Regions from separate parts of the Homo sapiens genome. Here regions 1, 2, 3, 4, 5 and 7 are each linked to region 6. Evidence: promoter capture Hi-C in 16 types of primary human blood cells and fetal thymus (Javierre and others, 2016). All regions are on one chromosome and are shown on one strand. The core of a region is centred on a gene start or on the middle of the fragment in contact, and the rest is flanking DNA. Distances in the headings are between cores, read along the strand shown. Region 1 has its middle 300 kb from the start of RASGEF1B. Region 2 has its middle 410 kb from the start of RASGEF1B. Region 3 has its middle 350 kb from the start of RASGEF1B. Region 4 has its middle 390 kb from the start of RASGEF1B. Region 5 has its middle 330 kb from the start of RASGEF1B. Region 6 holds the start of RASGEF1B (RasGEF domain family member 1B). Region 7 has its middle 440 kb from the start of HNRNPD.

Region 1 (2,809 bases), core at 210-2,709, 300 kb before region 6:
GGGACATGGATGAAGCTGGAAGCCATCATCCTCAGCAAACTAATACGGGAACAGGAAACCAAACATCACATGTTCTTACTCATAAGTGGGAGCTGAACAATTAGAACACATGGACACAGGGAGGGGAAAAACACATACCTGGGCCTGTCCGGGGGAGGTGGAGTGAAAGGGGAGGGAGAGCATCAGGACAAATAGCTAACACATACAGGGCTTAAAACCTAGATGACGGGTTGATAGGAGCAGCAAACCACCATGGCACATGTATACCTATGTAACAAACCTCCATGTTCTGCACATGTATCCCAGAACTTAAAATAAAATAAAAAAAGATTATACTACTTAAAAGTCAGAGAATCCTATGATTTAATTCTGACTTTGCTATGTGACAAGTTTCTTGGACAAAGTTTCTTTACCTTTCTGATTCTGTTTCTTTCTCAGTAAACAACAGATGATAGTGCTTAGATAGTATTGTTGCAAATGCTAATGAGTAATATTTGTAAAGGACTTATGTAAGAACCAGGTATGTAGTAAATTCTCATAAATTTACATTTGTTTAAATTGTTATTTTGGCCATTATTATACTTTTTATGTCATAGGAAAAAACCCTGTGAAAATCTATGTAAGATTGTGGTGTTGTCTTCTTTATCAACTTCTGATTCTATGTACTTATTTGTGGAACAAGCTATGTGAACCTGTCTGGAATAATTGATTGTAGAAAATTTTTGTGGTATGTAAGGTGACTACTTTAAGTTTTGCTTAAACCTCACCAGGTATCTCTTTTCAGTTGTTTCTGTACTTGCTCTGAAATTGTAAACATGTTGTCATTATGTCATTGAGTGATCCCTGCTCCTTCCTTGCATTGGAAATTTTTATCAGAGCTTGGTTCTAGGAAAAGCTTTATCTCCCTTGGGAAAGTAGTGGATTTCCTCTTCTCATATCAAAATGTCTTACACAACTTATCACATTTTCCTTAGTCTGGTTTGTCAGGAAGATTGTAGTTGGTCTTTTCACTCAATCACAACCACCTGACTCATTGTTATATTTTGGATATTTACTTTTTCCTTTTCTTTCCAATTAAAAATCTTATTTTAGTAATTTATTTTTCCTTACTTTTGCTGTGCCTCATACAGTTTTGGGAAAGTGGTGAGGCAGAAAAAAATATGTATGCATATGTATATACATCCTCATATAGATTTATTTTGTTAATTTTTATTTGAAAGTTTGACACACAAGTTTAAGTTTTGATATCAGCAACCCCCTTAACCCAACTAGCTCTCTTTTGCCTTTGTTCATTTCTTTCACATTTGTCCAACAAATATTTCTTGTTTCCAATTGATGGGATTTTAATTTTTATTTTTAAATTGACACAAAAAATTTTATGGGGTAAATAGTCATGCTTCAATACCTATAATGAATAGTGATCCACCAGGGTAATTAGCATATTACCCTGGATTTCATCACCTGGCACATGTATTATTTCTTTGTTTTGGGAACATTCAGTATCTGCTTCTAGCTATTTGAAACTATATAATATGTTAGTGTTAACTGTAGTCATCTCACAGTGCTATAAAACACTAGAACTTATTCCTCCTATCTGGCTGTAGTTTTGTATCCTTTAACAAATCTCTACCCATCCTCACCCTCTCCCTACCCTTCCCAGACTCTAGTATCCTCTGTTCTTTTTACTTCTATGTGATCAACCTTTTTTAGCTTTTACATATGAATGAGAGCATGTGGTGTTTAACTTTCTGTTCTTGGTTTGTTTCACTTAGCAAAATGTCTGCCACTTCTATCCATGTTGCTACAAATGACAGCATTTCACTCTTTTTAATGGATGAATAGTATTTCCCGGTATATGTATACTACATTTTCTTTATCATTTATCTATTCTTGGACAGCTAGGTTGATTCCATATGTTGGCTATTGTGAATAGTATTGCAGTAAACATGGGGGTGCAGATATCTCTTTGATGTACCGATTTCTTCCTTTTCTTTAGAGAAACGCTCAGTAATGGGAAAGCTTCTGTACAGCAAAGTAAATAATCAATGGAGTGAAAAGGCAACCTATGGAATGGGAGAAAATATTTGTAAACTATTCATCCAACAGGGGATTAATATCCAGGATATACTAGGAACTCAAACATCTCAACAGCAAAAACCCAAACAGCTTGATTAAAAAATGGGAAAATGATCTGAACAGACACTTCTCAAAAGAAGACATACAAATGGCCAACAAATGTATGAAAAAAATTATCAATATCCACTAATCATCAGGGAAATGCAAATGAAAACCACAGTGAGTTATTATCTGACTCCAGCTGAGGATGGCTATTATCAAAAAAACAAAAATTAACAAGTTCTGGCAAGGATGGGGAGACGAGGCAGCTCTTACACACGGTTGGTGGGAATGTAAACTAGTACAGCCATTGTGAGAAGGTTCCTCAAAAAAGCCACAGATGGGCTGGATTTCAGGCGGACGAGGTTTCCATAAAAAGGAATCAAAGTATCATCAGTGAGCTTATGTCCTACTAGGGGATATGGACTCTTGAGAGGAAGTACAGACCTAATGAGATCAGAGTTGCTTCCATTTAAAAAGTTTAAAATTTGATAACCATGCTGTTAATTTTGATGGAAAAATGACAGCCTAGGAGAAAGACCTGGGCTTTTTGTTGTTGTTATTGACATTATTGCTGAATCTGTTGGGATTCCACTAGCTTGCCCATAGCCTCAGGAGAAATTGGTTTTTCTGTTCGTTATCTTGGTGCCTTTTCTATAATAGCTACAAATAAGATATCTTTTCATATCTGTGA
Region 2 (3,098 bases), core at 361-2,860, 410 kb before region 6:
TCTGAGACTGGGGAAGGTGGGGCCCCATGGACTACAAATCCACATCCTCATACATGTCTGCTTAAAACCATTAACCTTCAGGCATTCTCAGTTAGCTTTATCTATTTGCTGCCATTTATGGACTTGTTTCCTAATAAGGGCTCCCACTTGAAGGATACCGTTAATATTCTACGATTTCCTTCTATTTCAAGAAATTCTGTTTTCTTTGTGGGTTTGCCACTATGAGATTCAATTTCCCTGATAGATGTGTGTTTTCTGCCCTCCCTTGTGTGATTAATTCAGAGGAAGCATTTATCTGTTGTGATCTAAATGTGTATTTGTTTTACCCTGAACCAACAAGACAATTACAAATGTTGTCTTGCCTGCAACCATAGGCTTAGAAATGCAGTTGTCACAATGTAAGCCGCAAAGCATGTGACTTCGGGGCTCTGTGCTGACACTTGACTAGCTGAATACATGCAGAAGCCAGAAAGTGGAAAATTTTTTACTGGCGATGACGAATGATTTTCTGCCCTGCAGAACTGGCAATGGACTTTGCTTGGACCTTAATTTGACCCAGAGTTGTTCCTATAAGTATGCAGAGTAACATGACTGTCTCACTTCCCTACAATACTATATGCCTGGGGAAACTCCAACAATATTAATTGTGTGGAAGTGCCCTGACTTCTCCCACCTGCCTCAGGGTTCTCATGGACTCTAAAAGCTCTGATGGGCCCCAGCATCGGAGACAGACTCTGAGACTGAATGGATCTTGAGCAAGCAGCTCATCCTGTGTTGAGGACCTGGGATAGGGCTATTGCTCACAAAGGAAAATTCAGGGATGGAGCAGCTCCATTGATATCCTGGGGAAGGTGGGGCCCCATGGACTACAAATCCATATCCTCGTACATATCTGCTTAAAACCCAGTAGCCCTCTGCTGTCATGTGCTTAACATTCAAAACAAATTCTTTACTGCTTTCAGGGCCAGGCCAAATAAAGTTCTGAAGGCAAAGACGATAATGAAAAATACTGGTAACTGTCCCATCTTTGTTATTAAAGCTGAAAAAATATGACTTAGATGGTACCCTTCATAGTGACAACCCTGAGTATCTAATGCTATCTTGAGATGGTTCCTCAGGGAGCAGTTTTATGTCATTTTCTTGTAACTGTCACTCTAATGTGCTGAAGTGAAGCTTTATTGTCATTTGCATATTCTGAAAGTTTACTGAATTTTAAAAATGTGTGCCTGAGAAATAGCTTGTCTTGATTTATTTAGGAATTTGGATTTTTTTTTTCCTGGTTGGAAATGCCACAAACCTGGCTGCTACACTGATCATTTATTTAGTATAGCTTTATGTGGAGTTAGTCCAAAGAGTTAGGATTTAAAAAGGTATGCTTTTAAAAGTCATGATTCCCATTCACAGTAAAATAAAGGAGTCATACGTGTAAGAAAATACTTGGAGTCTGGAATTCCCAGTATAACGCTATGGATTAAGTGTTCTAAGAGCAGGCAAGAAAGTGAAGGGGAGCATTGACCATGTCAGCTTGAGGTACTTTCACAGTGGGAGTGGCATTTAAAGTCGTTTTTGAAGGAATAAGTAGGAGTTTGGAGGATGAAGAAAGATAGCAGAGACCACTCCAGACAAGGGACAGAGTATGAAAAGGCAGGAGATACAACACAGGGGGAGGGTGCTTGTGGATCTGAAAAGTGTTCTGTGGCCAAGAGGGTACATAGAGATTGTAAAGAAGCTGTATATGATTGCCTGAGGGATTTACAACAGACACGTGGGGCCATGGGAGGCTTTTAGGCAGGAGAATGAGTCAAATACTACATAGAGTAAGGTGACTGCACCTTTAAGAACCACCAGTGAGGGACTTGAACCACCAGTGAGGAGCAAGAAGGGAGGTGTGAGGTCCTAACTTCCTGATTCACTGGCTTCCTGCATGCTCCAGGGTTCTTCCTGTCCTGGTGCAGGAGGTATGGTTCTACTTTCAGCATTGGACAGAGGAGCTTTTTAGATCACAGGAAAGAATGTATGATGATGGAAGCTGTTCCTGGAAGCTTAGCTTAGTTTATGCCTTTTTCTTTAGTGATTGTGTTAAGCATTTAATACCTGACAATAAAATATTGTTTTGCTTAAACTAGCTATCATAGTATCTGTCATCTACAACTGGACTCAAAATGATACAGCATCCCACCAGGCCTGCAGGCTGAGCTAGGAAGCCAAGAAAGAGACAGCTGAGTTTTGTCAGACTTGATGAGTGGGGAGTAGGAACCAGGGCACATATGCAAGTGGAGATGGCTCATAGCCAGGGACGAAGACAAGTGAAACTAGGTGGAGACAGAGCTGGGGAGGGTGGGAATGCCTCCTGGCACTGGGCGTCTTTGTGAAGTTAAGGGTTGCTTTCACTGGATGTCAATAGGTGAGGCATACCTTGGCATTAATAAGGAAAACATGCCAATAATTTTGTGAACCTCCCAATATGCTATCACTGTGGTAACATTTAAATCTGATCACAGAGGGCGGTAAAGCATGATTAAAAAATTAAATGAACCTATTTTACTTTATTTTATTTTGAGACAGGGTCTTACTATGTTACCCAGGCTGGAGTGCAGTGGCACAATCATGGCTCACTGCAGCCTTGACTTCTCCAGACTCAGGTGATCCTCCCACCTTAGCCTCCTGAGTAGTTGGGAGTACAGTTGCATGTCCCCACTCCCGGATAATTTTTTTTGTATTTTTTTGTAGAGACAGGGTTTTGCCAAGTTGCCCAGGCTGCTCTTCAACTCCTGAGCTCAAGTGATCCACCTGCCTTGGCCTCCCAGTCCGAAGAGCTAGGATTACAGGCAGGAACCACAATGCCTGGCCCCTCTTTCAGATATTTAGTAAAAATTGTTTTGTGTATGTGATGAGAAATAGAAAAAAAACAAAGCTGCAGAGAGATGCTAGTTTGCTAGTGTGCTAGGCAGTTGCTAGATTCACTCACCAAGTCCATCCTCAACAAGCTGACTGATCTTTGCAAGACATGGCCCTTTAAGGTTCACTTGCATTTGAAACCACAAATGTTAAATTCATAAATACTAACTGTCTGTGTTTTTGTATGTTAGTTGTAGGCT
Region 3 (2,709 bases), core at 199-2,698, 350 kb before region 6:
TTTAATTGAAGATCATTTCCCCTGGGGCTATGGCACTAATGTCTGAATTCTTAGACATGTTCCTTAATTTACTCTCCCTAGGGTGGCAGTGCTCGTGCATCTTAAAGCTTACTTAAAAATGCAGTTATGGTCTCTTGAGTTGCCCCCACATGGACTCTTCAGTAGCTGGAGAGTGGGTCCTCCCTATGTTCTGAGTCCCATTTCAGACGGAGAATGAAACTTGAATTCAGGGTTGAGCAGAGAAATTTTCACCGCTAGACTTGCATTTCCTGGAAAAAATTTTAGTTGCATCAGCCAGGGAATCAGGATCATTTCTATAACTAGCCCCTTTAGGGTTTAGACCAGTTTTCTCAAATGTGGGCAGTTTTTCCCGCTAGAGAACATTTAGCAATGTCTGGAGACATTTTTGTTTGTCATGACTGAGGTAGGTGGAGATTGTCAGTAGCATCTGGTGGGTAGAGGCCACACATGCTACAGAACCCCCTACAGTGCACAGTGTGTCCCCACGTGCCCTCAAAACAAAGAGTTATCTAGTCCAAAAACATTTACAGGGTCTTCACTGAAAAAGCCTGGTTTAGCCAAACCAAGCAGATAATAGACAACAGCTTTACGCTAAATATAAGGTGTATTTTACCATTATTTAGAAGTCTTTTATCTCTCTTCTTTCTTATATCCCTGAGCTTCACTTTATAATAGTGTTTCCTGTGAGGCTGCTTTTCCAGCACAGTGCTTCCAAAGAAATGTTTTGGGATAAGGACTGCAGTTTTGCCAGATGTTATTTTCTTTTGCATCTACTCAGTTCATATTTATTGGTTATCTTCTTTGTGCCAAGCACTGGGCTAGTAATGGGACTACTGCAATGACCAAGTTTCAGTGGGTCTTTACATTCTTGGAGCAGAAATCTGGGAATCAACACTGAGGCCTCTCTCATGGCACAGTGCTCATGTGTACAAATGAGTAAAGATGATGACAAGTCATGAGGAAAACATCTGATGGGAAGATTGTGGGTGGGGTAGTTCACGGTAGCATGTGGAATGCTGCCTGGTTCTTTGGCTTTTCTCTCTGTCCTGCCCTAATCTTTGAACAGACAGCAAGAATACTATTTCTTACATCCCCATTGTAATACAGAAATGAGAGAAACTAAGATATACCTGGCAGCACAAAGAGCAAGAGGACATGAAATTTGCAGGGCTATACCTGTCCTTTCACCACCTGCTACTGTGTTTCAGGGCTGAAATTAGGTCAACAGGATAGATCCTGGTAACTAGAATGCATCATGTGCCCTTATTCTCCTTGAGTGAAGATGACTGCTTCTCTATGGAAACCATTTTCTTCTTTTTTAATTTTTTGACAATTCTGCTTTTTGTGCCTGTTTTTTGTGAACTTTTCATTTTGTCCTTCTTTTTGTCTTTTGCCTTTCCTCTTTTCTTCTGCCACCAGAATTCTTCCCTTCTTTCAGTTTTCCCTTTTTAATTCAAACTTTCCCAGTAACATTTATTCCTTCCCTCTCAAATGAAATAAAAATGGCCAGCAAACCAAACTTGGAGATTATATCTAACCTAAACCTTGAACTTAATTTTTTAAATTAAAGATGCACTTTTGTATGTGTATTCACATTCTGTCTTTTCTGTCCTTTAATACTGCATGTTGTTTTGACCCAGAATATGTGCTGACTTAGATCCTTAGCTTTCTCACATGCTTATTGCAAAACAGACAAACAAACAAACAGAAAGCAAAGCAAACCAAAACCTTAGGTGAGGTGGTAAATATTTTTATGATGTTAAAAGAGCAGAGAGTAGGAGACAGTTTATATACACTAGATTTTCCAGCCATATACAAGCATGTTTATTGCAGCATACTTTGTAATAGCAAACAAAAGAAAACAAGAAGCAACAACAATGAAAGAACCAAAACCTGTTGATCAATAAAGGAAAGCATAAAATTATGATATATTCATATTATGACATGTTATATAGGTATTAAGAAGAATGAATTAATCTGCATGGGCTGAACTGGAAAGATGTTGATAATATATTCTTAATTAAGATGGTATGATCATAAGAACGAGACTTCTATATAATATGCGCAGACATATTTGCGTGGGAATAGAGAAAGTGTGGAAAGATGAATACAAATTTGTATTATGGGTTACCTCAGGAGGATAGGGTATAAAAGAGACTAACTCATTAAGAATAAATATTAGTTTTATAATTAAAGAAAATGTAAAAAAGTTTACTGAAAAAAATCTCAATACTGTTTGTATGGCTGACCATGGCTATGTATTTATTCATAGGATTGTCCAAAGGGAACATACTTGCATGTAAATCCCAATATAGCCTTGAATGTTGCAGTGCCTTTTGAGTGGTTCATCAGGCCAAGCAAGTATACATACAAATGTGTGAGAGGTCAACTACAGGGAGAGTGAGTGCATTAAAGATAGTAGAAAGGAGATAGCAAGCCCTGGTATTGTTCAGACTCACAAATCTCTTACATAGGCAGAAGCTCCATTCTCCCACTTGGGCTCATAACAGCTGTCATTTGAAAGATTGGGCATAGCTGACTCTAACATTATGCACATATCTCTTTAAGACAGAAGATCATATGTGTTTGGAGGTGGGTTCTGGAGTTAGATGGCTTTGCTTCCTGACCTAACTATGTCCAAGGTATATAGCAATTAACCTAATTGTGCGTTCGTTACCTTGTTTGTAA
Region 4 (3,022 bases), core at 158-2,657, 390 kb before region 6:
TATTTTTAGTTTTTGAGTAAACTCCAAACTCTTTTCCATAGTGCTTTTACTAATTTACATTCCCACCAACAGTGTACAAGGATTCCCTTTTCTCCACATTCTCACCAGCATTCATTATATCCTGTCTTTTGGATAAAAGACATTTTAACTAGGGTGAGATGATACGTAATTGTAGTTTTGATTTGCATTTGTCTGATGATTAATGATGTTGAGCATTTTTTCAGGTACCTGTTGACCATTCATGTGTCTTCTTTTGAGAAATGTTTATTCGGGTCTTTTGTCCATTAAAAAAATTGGATTATTAGATTTTTTTTTCTATGGAGTTGTTTGAGCTCTTTATATATTCTGGTTATTAATCCCTTGTCAGATGGATGGTTTACACATATTCTCTCCCATTCTGTGGGTTGTCTCTTTATTTATTGTTTCCTTTGCTGTACAGAAGCTTTTTAACTTGATATAATTCCATTTGTCTATTTGTGCTTTGGTTGCCTGTGCTTATGGTGTATTACTCAAGAAATCTTTGCCCAGACCAATGTCCTGGAGAGTTTCCCCAATGTTTTCTTGTAGTTGCTTCATAGTTTGAGGTCTTAGATTTAAATCTTTAATCCATTTTGATTTGATTTTTATATATGGCGAGAGATATTGGGTCTAGTTTCATTCTACATATGGATATCCAGTTTTCCCTGTATCATTTATTAAAGACACTGTCCTTTTTCCAATGTATGTTCTTGGCACCTTTGTCCAAAATAAGTCAACTGTAAATGTATGGATTTATTTCTGGGTTCTGTATTCTGTTTCATTGGTCTACATGTCTGTTTTTATGCCACCCAGTACCATGCTGTTTTGTTACTGTAGTTCTGTAGTATAATTTGAAGTCAGGTAATGTGGTTCCTCCAGTTTTGTTCTTTTTGCTCAGGATAGTTTTGATTATTGTGAGTGTTTGTGGTTTCATATAAATTTTAGGATCGTTCTTCTATTTACTTAAAAAATGTCATTGGTATTTTGATAGCAATTGCACTGAATCTGTAGATTGCTTTGGGTAGTATGGACATTTTAATAATATTGTTTCTTCCAATCCATGAACATGGAATATCTTTCCCTTTATTTGGTATGTCCTCTTCAATTTCTTTTATCAATGTTTTATGGTTTTTATTGTAGAGACCTGTCACTTCTTTAAGTTTATTCCTAGGTATTTTATTTTACTTACAGCTATTGTAAATGGAATTACTTTCTTGGTTTATTTTTCAGATTATTTGCTGCTGGCATATAGAAATGCTACGGATTTTTGTACATTGATTTTGTATCCTGTAATTTTACTAATTTTTTTTTTTTACCTGGTATAATAGTTTTTGGTGGAATCTTTAGTTTTTTTCAAAATATAATATTTTTCATCTGCAAAGAAGGATAGTTTGACCTCTTCCTTTTCAATTTAAATGCACTTTATTTCTTTTTCTTGTCTGACTGCTTTAGCCAGGGCTTTCACAGCTGTGTGGAATAACAGTGATGCAAGTGAGGATCCTTGTCTTGTTCCAGATCTTAGAGGAAGGGCTTTCAGTTTTTCCCCATTCAGTATGATACTAGTTAGAGGGTCTGTAATATATGACTTTTATTGTGTTAAAGTACGTTCCTTCTATACTCAGTTTTTTGAGGGTTTTTTATCAGGAAGCGGTGTTGAATTTTATCAAATGCTTTTTCAGCATCAATTGAAATGAATGTTTTTGTCCTTTATTCTGTCAATATGATATATCACATTGATTTGCATATGTTGAACCATCTTTGCATCCTTGGGATAAATCCCACTTGATCATAGTGAATAATCTTTCTAATGTGTTACTGAATTCTGTTGGCTAGTGTTTTGTCGAGGATTTTTTGCATCAGTGTTCAGCAGGGATATTGGCCTGTAGTTTTCTTTTTTTGATTTTTTTTTTTTTAATCAGGGTAATACTAGCCTTGTAGAACGAGTTTGGGAGTATTCCCTCCTACTCTATTTTTTCTGGAATAGTTTGAGTAGGATTGGCGTCGGTTCTTTAAATGTTTGCTAACATTCAGCCATGAAGTCATTGGGTCCCAGACTTTTCTTTGCTGGGAGACTTTTTATTACAGCTTTGATATTGGTCTATTACTTGTTATTGGTCTATTCAGGTTTTGGATTTATTCATGGTTCAATCTTAGCAGTTTGTATGTGTCTAGGAATTCATGTTTCTTGTAGGTTTTCCACTTTATTGGCATGTAGTTGCTCATAGTAGCTTCTAATGATCCTTTGAATTTCTATGGTTTCAGTTGTAATATTTCTGTTTTCATCTCTGATTTTATATTTTTGTATTGTTTCTCTTTTTTTTTTTTTTTTTTTTTGCTAGTCTGGCTAAAGCTTTGTCAGTTTTCCTTCTTAGGTGCCAAGCTTCTCTGGCTGAATATCAGCATGGGGACATCCCTATGTGTTGGTAATCTCTAGCTAATTTACCAGTAGTCCAGAGACTCCACATTCAGTCAAAATGGCTCATGTCTGTTCCCAACCAACAGAGAACCAGTCCTGAGTTTCTCCCTTCAGGGAAGTGGGTTCCCCTCTAGCCCAGGGCAGGTCCAGAAATGCTGTCCAGGAGCTAAGGACTGGAATCAGGGACCCCAGGAGCCCACTTGGTGCTCTCTTCCTCTGTGGCTGAGCTGGTTCCCAAGCTGCAAAACAAAGTCCCTTTTATTCTTCCTTCTTCTTTTCTCAAGGTGAAGGGACGTCTCCCATAGCCATCACAGCTGGGAGTGTGCTGGGACACACCTGAAGCCAGCACAGCTCTGAGTCTTACCAACAAGGCCCATAAGGAGTACTGTCCCATGCCTACCACCGCTGACTATTTAGAACTTAAGGGCTTTTTAGTCAGCAGATAATGGATTCTGCCAGAACTGAGTCCTTGCCTTCAAGACAGTGGGTTCCCTTCTGAGCCAGGGTGTCTAGAAATATTGTCCAAGAGCTAGGGCCTGGAATGGAGGCCACAGAACTCTACCCTATTCTAGTGCCTATTTCTACTGT
Region 5 (2,700 bases), core at 87-2,586, 330 kb before region 6:
AATTTATACCCTCTCTTTCATCCAAAAACAGCTTTTAGGTGTCTTGGTTTTTAAATATATATGCTCAGATGGTCAGTGGTCCAGTTTCATAAACAGGGAGCCTGGGAATCCTAATCTTGACTAGCTAGGATGTTCTGATAACCTATCCAAAGTCAGTGCTCACAAGACTTCCAGTTCTAGAAAAGTGTGAGGGTGAATTAAGTAAAATTTTGGTCTTTTTGTTCCTCCAGACACCAATCAGCTGGTAGAGGAAATTCATTCTGTTTTCATTGCTCCTTATCTCTGTAATGTTCATTTCAACAATGTCTGGATCGAAAGGATTGAGAGAGCCAGAGTGTTTATAGATTCTTAACTTGATCTCCATTCATAAAAAAGGAAGCTAGTGCACTTATTGAACAACCCATTCAACATCCTTGAAACCAAGCTTGCTACCTCAGCATTTAAAAAATTGCCTTTTGTCTGCAAACCCCTTCTAGTGGGATCAGCGAATACCAGGCAAATTCATGGCCCAGTCAGGAAAACCTGCCAGTTTGGCTTAATGTTTTATTGCTATTTGTAGCAGAATTTTAAAAATATATATACTTTATGTGAAGGAATAGACAATTCCAGAGAAAAAGACTGAAATCAGATTGATTCTATGAAAATTAGCTACTTGTAACTATGTATGCTCTCTCAAACTAATATTGATTGATCAAGGGAAATCATGTTTGAGTCACCATGATGTAGTAAAAAGATCAAGATCAAGACCTTGGATCTGGTTTCATCATGGACTTGTGTGGTTTGGAGGAAGTATCTTAATTTCAGCATCTATTTTCTTATGTGGCAAATGATTGTAATAGCATTTAGGCTCAATATACAGTTTTTTGTGAGGGTTACCTGTATATCTGCTGGAGGGGCACTAATGTGGTTGCCTCCAGTGAGGGTGGGGAAGAGGAGAAAAAGGAGGAGGCAGAAAGAAGACTTTCTGTGAGATCTATGGGAGGACAGGAGGGGAAGATTTAAAAAGTTGTTACGGTTTTGTGAAGGGAAGAACAGGGCAGAAAGAGCCAATTGGGGAAAATTTGTTGTGATGTTTCATCCCTTTCTAATGAGAGAAGCTGAGGCAGTGCCCCTCTTCACGAATTACACTATGATAAACCCTATATACTGCTAACTATTCAAGAGCAGGAATGGCAATACTCTTATTTCTGTCTTCCCAGCATACTCAGACCAGACCCTGGAACGGAGCAGGTTTTTGATGAATGCCTGTTGAATGATGAATAAACGGATGAAGGGAACCAAGGTATAACATAATCACATGAGGATACAAAGCAATCTCTAGATGAATGATTGCTGAATGAATAAGTGAATGCACAATTTTTATCTGACGATTGTGTAATTTAGGTTAATTTGAAGACTGTAGGGCACACAAATAGGAGGGTACAAAATACAAAGTGCAAAACACTGGTGAAACAGCACGCAGACTGTTTTGAACCCCTGCTGCTACTGCAGCTGCAAGGGTTGGTTAGGAATTTGTTCGTGTGATAAACAAAAGGACTATGTACATACAGTTTTGGGACTTCCAAGTAATAAGGGTATCGTTTGCACTTTCAGTCTGAAGATTTGTCCTCCAATAATGAGGCAATGGGAAAAACCCCTGTTGCTGCCATACAATGTTATACAAAATGTGCATTGGAAAAGAAGAGCAGCCCCTGTAAAATTGGGTGAATGTGTGGAAATGCTCACAGCTGTGTTAATAAAGTATTTAAAAGTCTGACCTTGAAGCATTTGCCAAAAATTTACATGCTAAAGAACTGTAAACCCACTAGAGCCTCCTTTGCACGCTGTCAACACTCTGCTTACGTTTATTGCATGCATGAGCTAATCAAGGGAAATTGGATCAGGACTTTTAGAACCTTCTATTCTTCTGTTTTGTTTACCAAAACACTAGCTTCTAGAGAGATTGGAAAAATAATGGGTCATCTAGATGGAAGAAGATGTGGTATTTAAAGAAATTTATTCACAGATAGGTTTAGGACTTGGCAAGGGAGAATGAGGTTATCTGTAGGCCTATATTTTTCATTTCAGAACAAAGAACTGTATCTGGCATAGGAAACAGCCAAAGATAAGCAGGATATAAAAAATGAGTCTGAAAATTATTTGAGAAAGAATATTCTGTCATGAAATGTGCTTTAGGGGTAAAGAAGGAGAATAGTTGAATTTCTTGAATCACCTGTGGGGGAGGATACTTTTATGCAAAAAAGCTTGCCACCGTAAGGTAGACAAATACCAAAAGCTTAGCTAGCTTTAGGAGCTTAGAGTAAAGGGGAAAGAGGAGCAATAATACTGGTAGTGCCAAGCCACTTGAATTAGCTGAGATCTCTTACTGCTCTGTGTCTTCCAACATGTTGTTCCTTCTACCTTTCCCTCCAACTTTGCCAGGAAGTGCTTCAGCAGGCCCCTATCACATGTTACCTTGGCAGCAGAGACTTCCACCACTCTCCAAACTGCTTTCTGTCCTTTGTTTCCCAGAACAATTGGACATGTATTTTGTTTCTGCAGCACTCATTCACCTAAACTTCATGAGCACCTGTCATGTGCCAAGCACTGTGAACACAAAAACGTGTAAGACAAAATTGCTGTCTGCAAGAGGCTCACAGTCCAGTAAAGGAAGTAACATTTGCAGCAAAAAAACTACCCAAAGGGTATGGAAGATGTGCT
Region 6 (2,871 bases), core at 306-2,805:
GCAGAAGTCACATGCTTTCTGTGTGAATCTCGCTACGAGCTGCAGACTGGAGCTGTTCCTATTCAGCCATCTTGCCAGCAATCCCCTGCAACTCTTAATTTCTGGCTACAGGATCAGTAATGTCAAGGGTGTAAGTGACTGGCCCAATGTCATATGGCTCGTTTGTTACAGAATCGGGATGCAAAAACTGAGCTTGAAAAATCAACCAACCAGTACAACCACAACAGCAGGGCAGGGCCACCCAGCCTCTGTGTTTCACTCTGCATGGCTGGCCCACCAAGTTCCCTTGGCCTTATGGCTTCTCATTTAAACTGCAGAGAAGCTATGGTTAAGTCAAAGGCTCAAGTAGGTTAGAGTGAATTACTGAATCAGAGGAGTCCTATTTACACAAAGGAGGGAAGGAGTATCATAAAGAGGAAGAAAAGTAAAAGGAGGCATAAATGAAGAAAATGAAAGAGGAATCCGCTAAGAATAGACAAAGTGAGCGTCAAAATGACTCCACCCCAGGAAGGAGAGGGGGAGGGACCCATGGAGCAGGAGGGAAAAGGATTCCTCCCCCTCAGTAATCTTAATTATAACAGTATAGGACAGGTATGAATAGTGTTGTTTTATATATGAGAAAACTGAAGCTCAGAAAAGCTGTATCACTTACTCAAGGAAATACAGTTGGTAAGAGTCTCCTAATTCTGTAAATTTTTTCTTTTCATAGGTCTCTTTCTTCCCTTGTTTCCATCATTATTTCCCTCTGGCCTCCTTTTATGTGTACAAAGTGAAGTACGGAGGTTTTTACCTTTTTTCTGAAATAGTTATCAAATATCCCATGATGGAGTGAGTACGTGGTTACCATGACAACACAGCCCTCACTGAGGACTAGCCTCCCTGCTTTGCCTCCGGAATCATGTTTCACGGAACAGGTTCCTCTCCGTGCAACTTCTAGCAGCTGTAATTCTACATTTTGTTTGGGTGATTATTTGCTGAATGTCTGTCCTCCACTAGACTATGTAAGTTTCACAATGGCAGAGACCAGCCTACTTTGCCAAGTGTGCCCCCAGCGTTTTGCACAGTGCTTAGCACCAGGATCTATGTGTTATTTGCTAAGCAAATGTTCTGTGGTTCCTCTCCGCTCTCTTCTGAAAGTTACATGGACAGTAACCTTTAGCTCACAATTATGTTAATAAATACTGTGTAACGAGTCGGGCCGGTATTTACAGATAGTATACACGTGAATGAACACACACACACTCACGACTGCACAACAGCCCGGGGCAGGTGCACTCAAGAGGAAACGCGCACAGTCGGAGCCAGCCTGACCAACGCTGTTAAACACCGCTGCGCTGGGCTCCGCGGGCCTCTGCCGCGTGGGAGGGCACCCAGGCTGACGCGCTGCGGGAGTCTGGGGCCCACTGGGACTTGCCTGCCGGGCCGGGTGGCGGCGGCGTGGGCGGTGAGCTGCGCGGTGATTGGCCCGCGCCTGCCGGGGCGGGGCGGGGCTGGCAGCGGGAGGCAGGCGCCTGAGCCAAGGGGGGCGTGCGCGGCGGCGGCTGCCGTAGTTTCAGTATAAACAAGGAACCCGACTGGTTAGACAGATTTTGTTTTTCTTCTTCCCGCGCGCTTTAGCTCCCTGTCCTTTGGTCGCATTTGTGGGCGCGCGGCACGCAGCCGGGAGGCCGAGGACTCGGAGTTCACCTGCAGGTAGGTTGTTCCCTGGCTGGGTTGTTCTCCCGGCTGGGGGACCACAGCCCGGAGCGGGAACTCCGGACCCTACTGCGCGCTGCGCTCTCCCTGGAGATCCCTGGGCCGCGCGGGGAGCGAGCGGGGCTCAGAGACTTCACCGGCTGCCGGGTGCGCTCCGAGGCGGCGGGAGATCCCGAGGCGAGTGAGCGCGAACGCGGGCGCCAAGAGCCGAGTTACAGCCCGGGACCGGGGGAGGGCCCCTGCCCGGCCGCTGCGGGTACCTGGGACTGCCGCGGCCCCAACAGGTGCGAGGCCGAGCCGCTGGGACCCGGGCAGGGCCAGGCTTGGGTTGGGTTGGGTTGTGCCTTCCCTCTTTCTCCCTGATCCTGCAGCCAGGCCTTCTGTCTCGAGATAGGTGGTTTTTGAGGATTTGTCTTGAGTTGTAATCGCGTCCATCATTTTTTTCATCCCTTCTTTCCTTCGTGTGCATACCTAGGTTGATTCTTCCACTTCTTGACCAGTTTTGTGTGCGTGTGTGTGTAGGGGGAGCTGTTTATTTTTGTTGTCAGTGCCATGTAATCTAAAGTCTGACTCGTAGGAAGGGACAAGGGAACAGAAGTCACATACTCGCCACCGACAAGGTGATGTGCTGTCATCCTTCGGTGTTCACCTGGCAAACTTGGGAGACACTGAGTCGCCTTGCTTTTGCCAGAGCTCAGTTGAGTCGCCTCGGGTCACCTGCCTGGGGAATCTCAGATGAGCTAGAGGTATCTAGGAGCCTCGCGGGCAGTCAGCTTAAGGGAGGTTCTTTCTAAGGGAGCTGTGAAAACAACTTAAGTGCTGCACCAGGGAAAAGGGCGAGACGGGGGCTGGGGTGCGCGCGCCTTTGTGTGTGTGTATGGACGTACCATTTCAATACTGCTTGCTGTCTTGCCCCAACCAAATCGGCGCAGTTCAGGCAAAAGCAACGTAGCTTAATCCTCTGACACTGCCGAGGGTGGCACAAGTGTGGCAGATAACACAAGGAGATTGTCTAGACGGCGATTTTCTCTTCGGAATGTAGATGTGTCCATCCTCCCTGATGAATTCGGTGGATATGGTGTATATAGATGAATATGCACACAAATTTGTGTATGTGTTTGGGCCGAACGCGTCTCCAAGGAGTCCTTCGTCAGCACCATGTGACGACGGTCAGGA
Region 7 (3,017 bases), core at 204-2,703, 460 kb before region 6:
TATTTCAGTCTTCTCTACATGGCTTGTTTTTGTTTTTATTCATTATGTTTGCTTAGAGATTTCTTTGCAACATATCTGTTTAATATCATTTCTGCCAGGTCACTGCCGCCTTTTAAGTACTTGATGGTGCCTTATGCCCAGGTTTGCTTTGGCTCTGGCAAACTTTGGACCCCTGTCTGTCCTGGATAGGGGAGGTCCCAAAAGTGATATCCCTACAGTGTGGGAAGGATAGGTAGGTGTTCATACCCAGAGAATCCGTTGAATGAATGCCCTACAGTGTGCTGCTGAACAGCCACTCTGATGTGATGTGTCATTTGGTCCAGACACAGAGCAGCATTTTCTGGGCTGGCGATGCTAGTCCCACCTCCCTGTCTTGGTCTCTGGCTGTCCTCAGAAGTTTTTCTCCTTTCAGGCACTCATGATGTTTTCCATTGGTTGAGGCAGGGCAGGTCTCCTGCCAGGGAACCCAAAATGGTGGGGAAACTGTTTGACCACCTCAATCTCACTTTTTCCACTGTAGTAACAATGAGTCAGAAACAATTCTGAAAGTAAGTATTAGTTTACCAAAGTAGGAAGTTTCTGTTCAACTGTGGGTAGTAATCAGTAGGCTTTTCTTCCATAAATACAGTAAATTCATTAGTGGTTACACAATGCTCTACTTTTGGTGAAAATATATCTATATGATTGTCGAGTAGCATTGTAACATTTTGGTGCCATTGGAAGAGTTTAGCATCACACAATGAAACTTGTATTGAGGTCATAGGTAAGTATGAAGCAAAAACAAACAAACAAAAAAACCAAAACCAAAACCAAAAAAACCACAAAAACAAGCAAACAAACAAAAACCCCCAAAGTAATGTGTCAAAATTGTGTGAAAAGGAGACGGCTTCCAAATACTCACCATATTAATAAACCACAGCTACCTGTCCAATTAGTGAATACTTTCTTAGAAATGAAATAATTTTTCTCTTGAGAATTCATTTATGCTTCCAGTTAATTTAGGGCTTTTTTGAAATGTGTCAGGCGGTTGCATATGCTGCAAAAATAATTATCTAAAACCTTGTTCTTTTTTATCTTACTGGAGATAAGTTGTGTATCTAGTGAAGCTTGTACCTAATGCAAGGTCCTTCATGGTTACTTCTCTTGTTTCTGTGCCCCTGATGCATGTACCTCTCCCAAATCTTTTTGTTTGGCCATGGCAGGAGTGGCAGCCCAAGTACTCCAGAGTCTTGCAAAATGCTTGTATGGGTCTGTGCCCTGTAAAGCTGTGTGGATTTTCATATGCCTATTGATAGTAATTTAGAAAATTTAATTGACAGTTGCGGAGGGAACAGATAAATCAAATACAGAACAAAGAAAGGTATAAGATGTTTTCACAATGCAACATTAAATTATACAAAATAAACTAATGTCTTGGGACAGCATTTCTGTCGTTTTGGACATAGCACACATAAAGCAAGCTACTGAGCCACATCAGAGCATCTTGCTGTATTTTGATGTATTCTTAAATGAAGGTAACCTAGGATGAGTTATGGTTGTGGAACCTTGTGTCTTCAAGAACTGGTTGAAGAAACAACACGAGGGCACATGAAAAATTACACCTTAGCTAACCACTGCTGCCACCACCACCACTACTATCACCACTGTAACACTATACTTTCTTGTCTGTTTTTATTATGCCAGAAATTGTCCTAAGTGGTTTATGACATTTTCTCATTTAACCTTATGGAAACCCTCTAAAGTAGCTATTATTAGTACTCCCATTTCATAGCCAAAGAAACCAAGGCTTAGAAAGCTTATGTAGCAGCCAGGAGTGGTGGTTCATGCCTGCAATCCCAGCACTTTGGGAGGCCAAGTTGGGTGGATCATGAGGTCAGGAGTTCAAGACCAGCCTGGCCAAGATGGTGAAACCCCGTTTCTACTAAAAATACAAAAATTAGCTGGGCGTGGTGGTGGGCACCTGTAATCCCAGCTACTCAGGAGGCTGAGGCAGAGAATTGCTTGAACCCGGGAGGTGGAGGTTGCAGTGAACTGAGATTGCGCCACTGCACTCCAGCCTGGGTGACAGAGCGAGACTCCATCTCAAAACAAAAACAAAAACAAAAAACAAAACAAAAGCCTATGTAGCATAGTTAAGGACATATAAACAGAAATGTGGTAGAGCTTGTATTTAAAGACAAGTCTCTGACTCAGCAACATGTGTTAGTGAAATTCCAGTTTAAGCATTTAAGTGTTTGTATGTGGAAGCAGCCCCTATGATACCTAAAAGTGAAGTGAACATCAACACTTCACAGAGTCAGTAGAATCATTAAACTTATAACCTGTCTACAGTGATGTCATAGAAGTACCAAGTGGGATATCTGGGAAAAGGGAGCATTTAAATATACAATTGGGGAAATTTCTGGTTAGTGGCTACAATTCCTCTAAGAGCCTAGGTCTTAGATGGGGATAAGGGAGAGTTATGACCCTACAACCAAGTCAAAGTATTTTTAATCCAGGAAAAGTAGAATCATCTTTTAGGCCTTTGGAACAGACTAACAAACAGAATTTGGAGGGAGTGGTAGTCATACATCAGACTCTCAGAAATTGCCTTTTGAGTAGGAGTGGAGGTCTCTTGACACTGAGACTTATGATTGGAGAAATCCAATTTGAAGTTCTATAACAGAGTAGGTAGTGTGGAAGGGATATACTTCACAGTAAGAGGAATTCATTTTACTTCTGGGTCTCTAAGACTTTCTTGTGAAGTAATAGGTCTACTCTGACTTAGGAAAAGAACCTCTTGTAAAGAACAGAGTGGCTTTTACTAGATACTTTCAAAGTCTAGGCTTTCTGTGTATTTCTTTCCATTATACTGAGAGTTGGAAGGAGGGACTAACATAGTGAGAGCGTGGAAATACTGGCCATAGCCTTTATGTCTTCTAACATTTTGAGAAAACATAGGGTCTATTTTTTGCTACTCAAATTCTCCAACTAATGTTTTAAACTCAAATTTTAGATTCTTCTTTGGAGGAAAGCAG

What was found. The method cuts DNA at HindIII sites, captures the fragments that hold promoters and counts their contacts. A CHiCAGO score of 5 or more calls a contact.
Region 1: a contact is called between a fragment that was not itself captured here and the fragment with the promoter of RASGEF1B in region 6, in 4 of 17 cell types (monocytes, activated CD4 T cells, total B cells and 1 more). The highest score is 7.1, in monocytes.
Region 2: a fragment that was not itself captured here is called in contact with the fragment with the promoter of RASGEF1B in region 6 in 11 of 17 cell types (total CD8 T cells, fetal thymus, total B cells and 8 more); the score reaches 9.7 in total CD8 T cells.
Region 3: a contact is called between a fragment that was not itself captured here and the fragment with the promoter of RASGEF1B in region 6, in 16 of 17 cell types (total CD4 T cells, naive B cells, naive CD8 T cells and 13 more). The highest score is 20.0, in total CD4 T cells.
Region 4: a fragment that was not itself captured here is called in contact with the fragment with the promoter of RASGEF1B in region 6 in 2 of 17 cell types (total CD8 T cells and naive CD4 T cells); the score reaches 7.3 in total CD8 T cells.
Region 5: a fragment that was not itself captured here is called in contact with the fragment with the promoter of RASGEF1B in region 6 in 3 of 17 cell types (total B cells, naive B cells and activated CD4 T cells); the score reaches 7.2 in total B cells.
Region 7: a contact is called between a fragment that was not itself captured here and the fragment with the promoter of RASGEF1B in region 6, in 1 of 17 cell types (fetal thymus). The highest score is 5.6, in fetal thymus.

What each region holds. Positions count from the first base shown.
Region 1 is chr4:81,775,088-81,777,896 of GRCh38, reverse strand. No RefSeq gene overlaps it. Among named protein-coding and RNA genes, the nearest start is that of RASGEF1B, 300 kb to the right of the region's middle. The HindIII fragment of the contact is 1,124 bases long and covers 898-2,021 here.
Region 2 is chr4:81,881,232-81,884,329 of GRCh38, reverse strand. No RefSeq gene overlaps it. Among named protein-coding and RNA genes, the nearest start is that of RASGEF1B, 410 kb to the right of the region's middle. The HindIII fragment of the contact is 869 bases long and covers 1,176-2,044 here.
Region 3 is chr4:81,824,805-81,827,513 of GRCh38, reverse strand. No RefSeq gene overlaps it. Among named protein-coding and RNA genes, the nearest start is that of RASGEF1B, 350 kb to the right of the region's middle. The HindIII fragment of the contact is 2,677 bases long and covers 110-2,709 here.
Region 4 is chr4:81,860,369-81,863,390 of GRCh38, reverse strand. No RefSeq gene overlaps it. Among named protein-coding and RNA genes, the nearest start is that of RASGEF1B, 390 kb to the right of the region's middle. The HindIII fragment of the contact is 1,926 bases long and covers 445-2,370 here.
Region 5 is chr4:81,801,389-81,804,088 of GRCh38, reverse strand. No RefSeq gene overlaps it. Among named protein-coding and RNA genes, the nearest start is that of RASGEF1B, 330 kb to the right of the region's middle. The HindIII fragment of the contact is 1,819 bases long and covers 427-2,245 here.
Region 6 is chr4:81,470,591-81,473,461 of GRCh38, reverse strand. It overlaps RASGEF1B (RasGEF domain family member 1B), which reads left to right and starts at 1,555. Exons shown (of 14, transcript NM_152545.3): 1 at 1,555-1,692. RefSeq lists a silencer at 1,214-1,623. The HindIII fragment of the contact is 14,883 bases long and covers 1-2,871 here.
Region 7 is chr4:81,928,490-81,931,506 of GRCh38, reverse strand. No RefSeq gene overlaps it. Among named protein-coding and RNA genes, the nearest start is that of HNRNPD, 440 kb to the left of the region's middle. The HindIII fragment of the contact is 689 bases long and covers 1,109-1,797 here.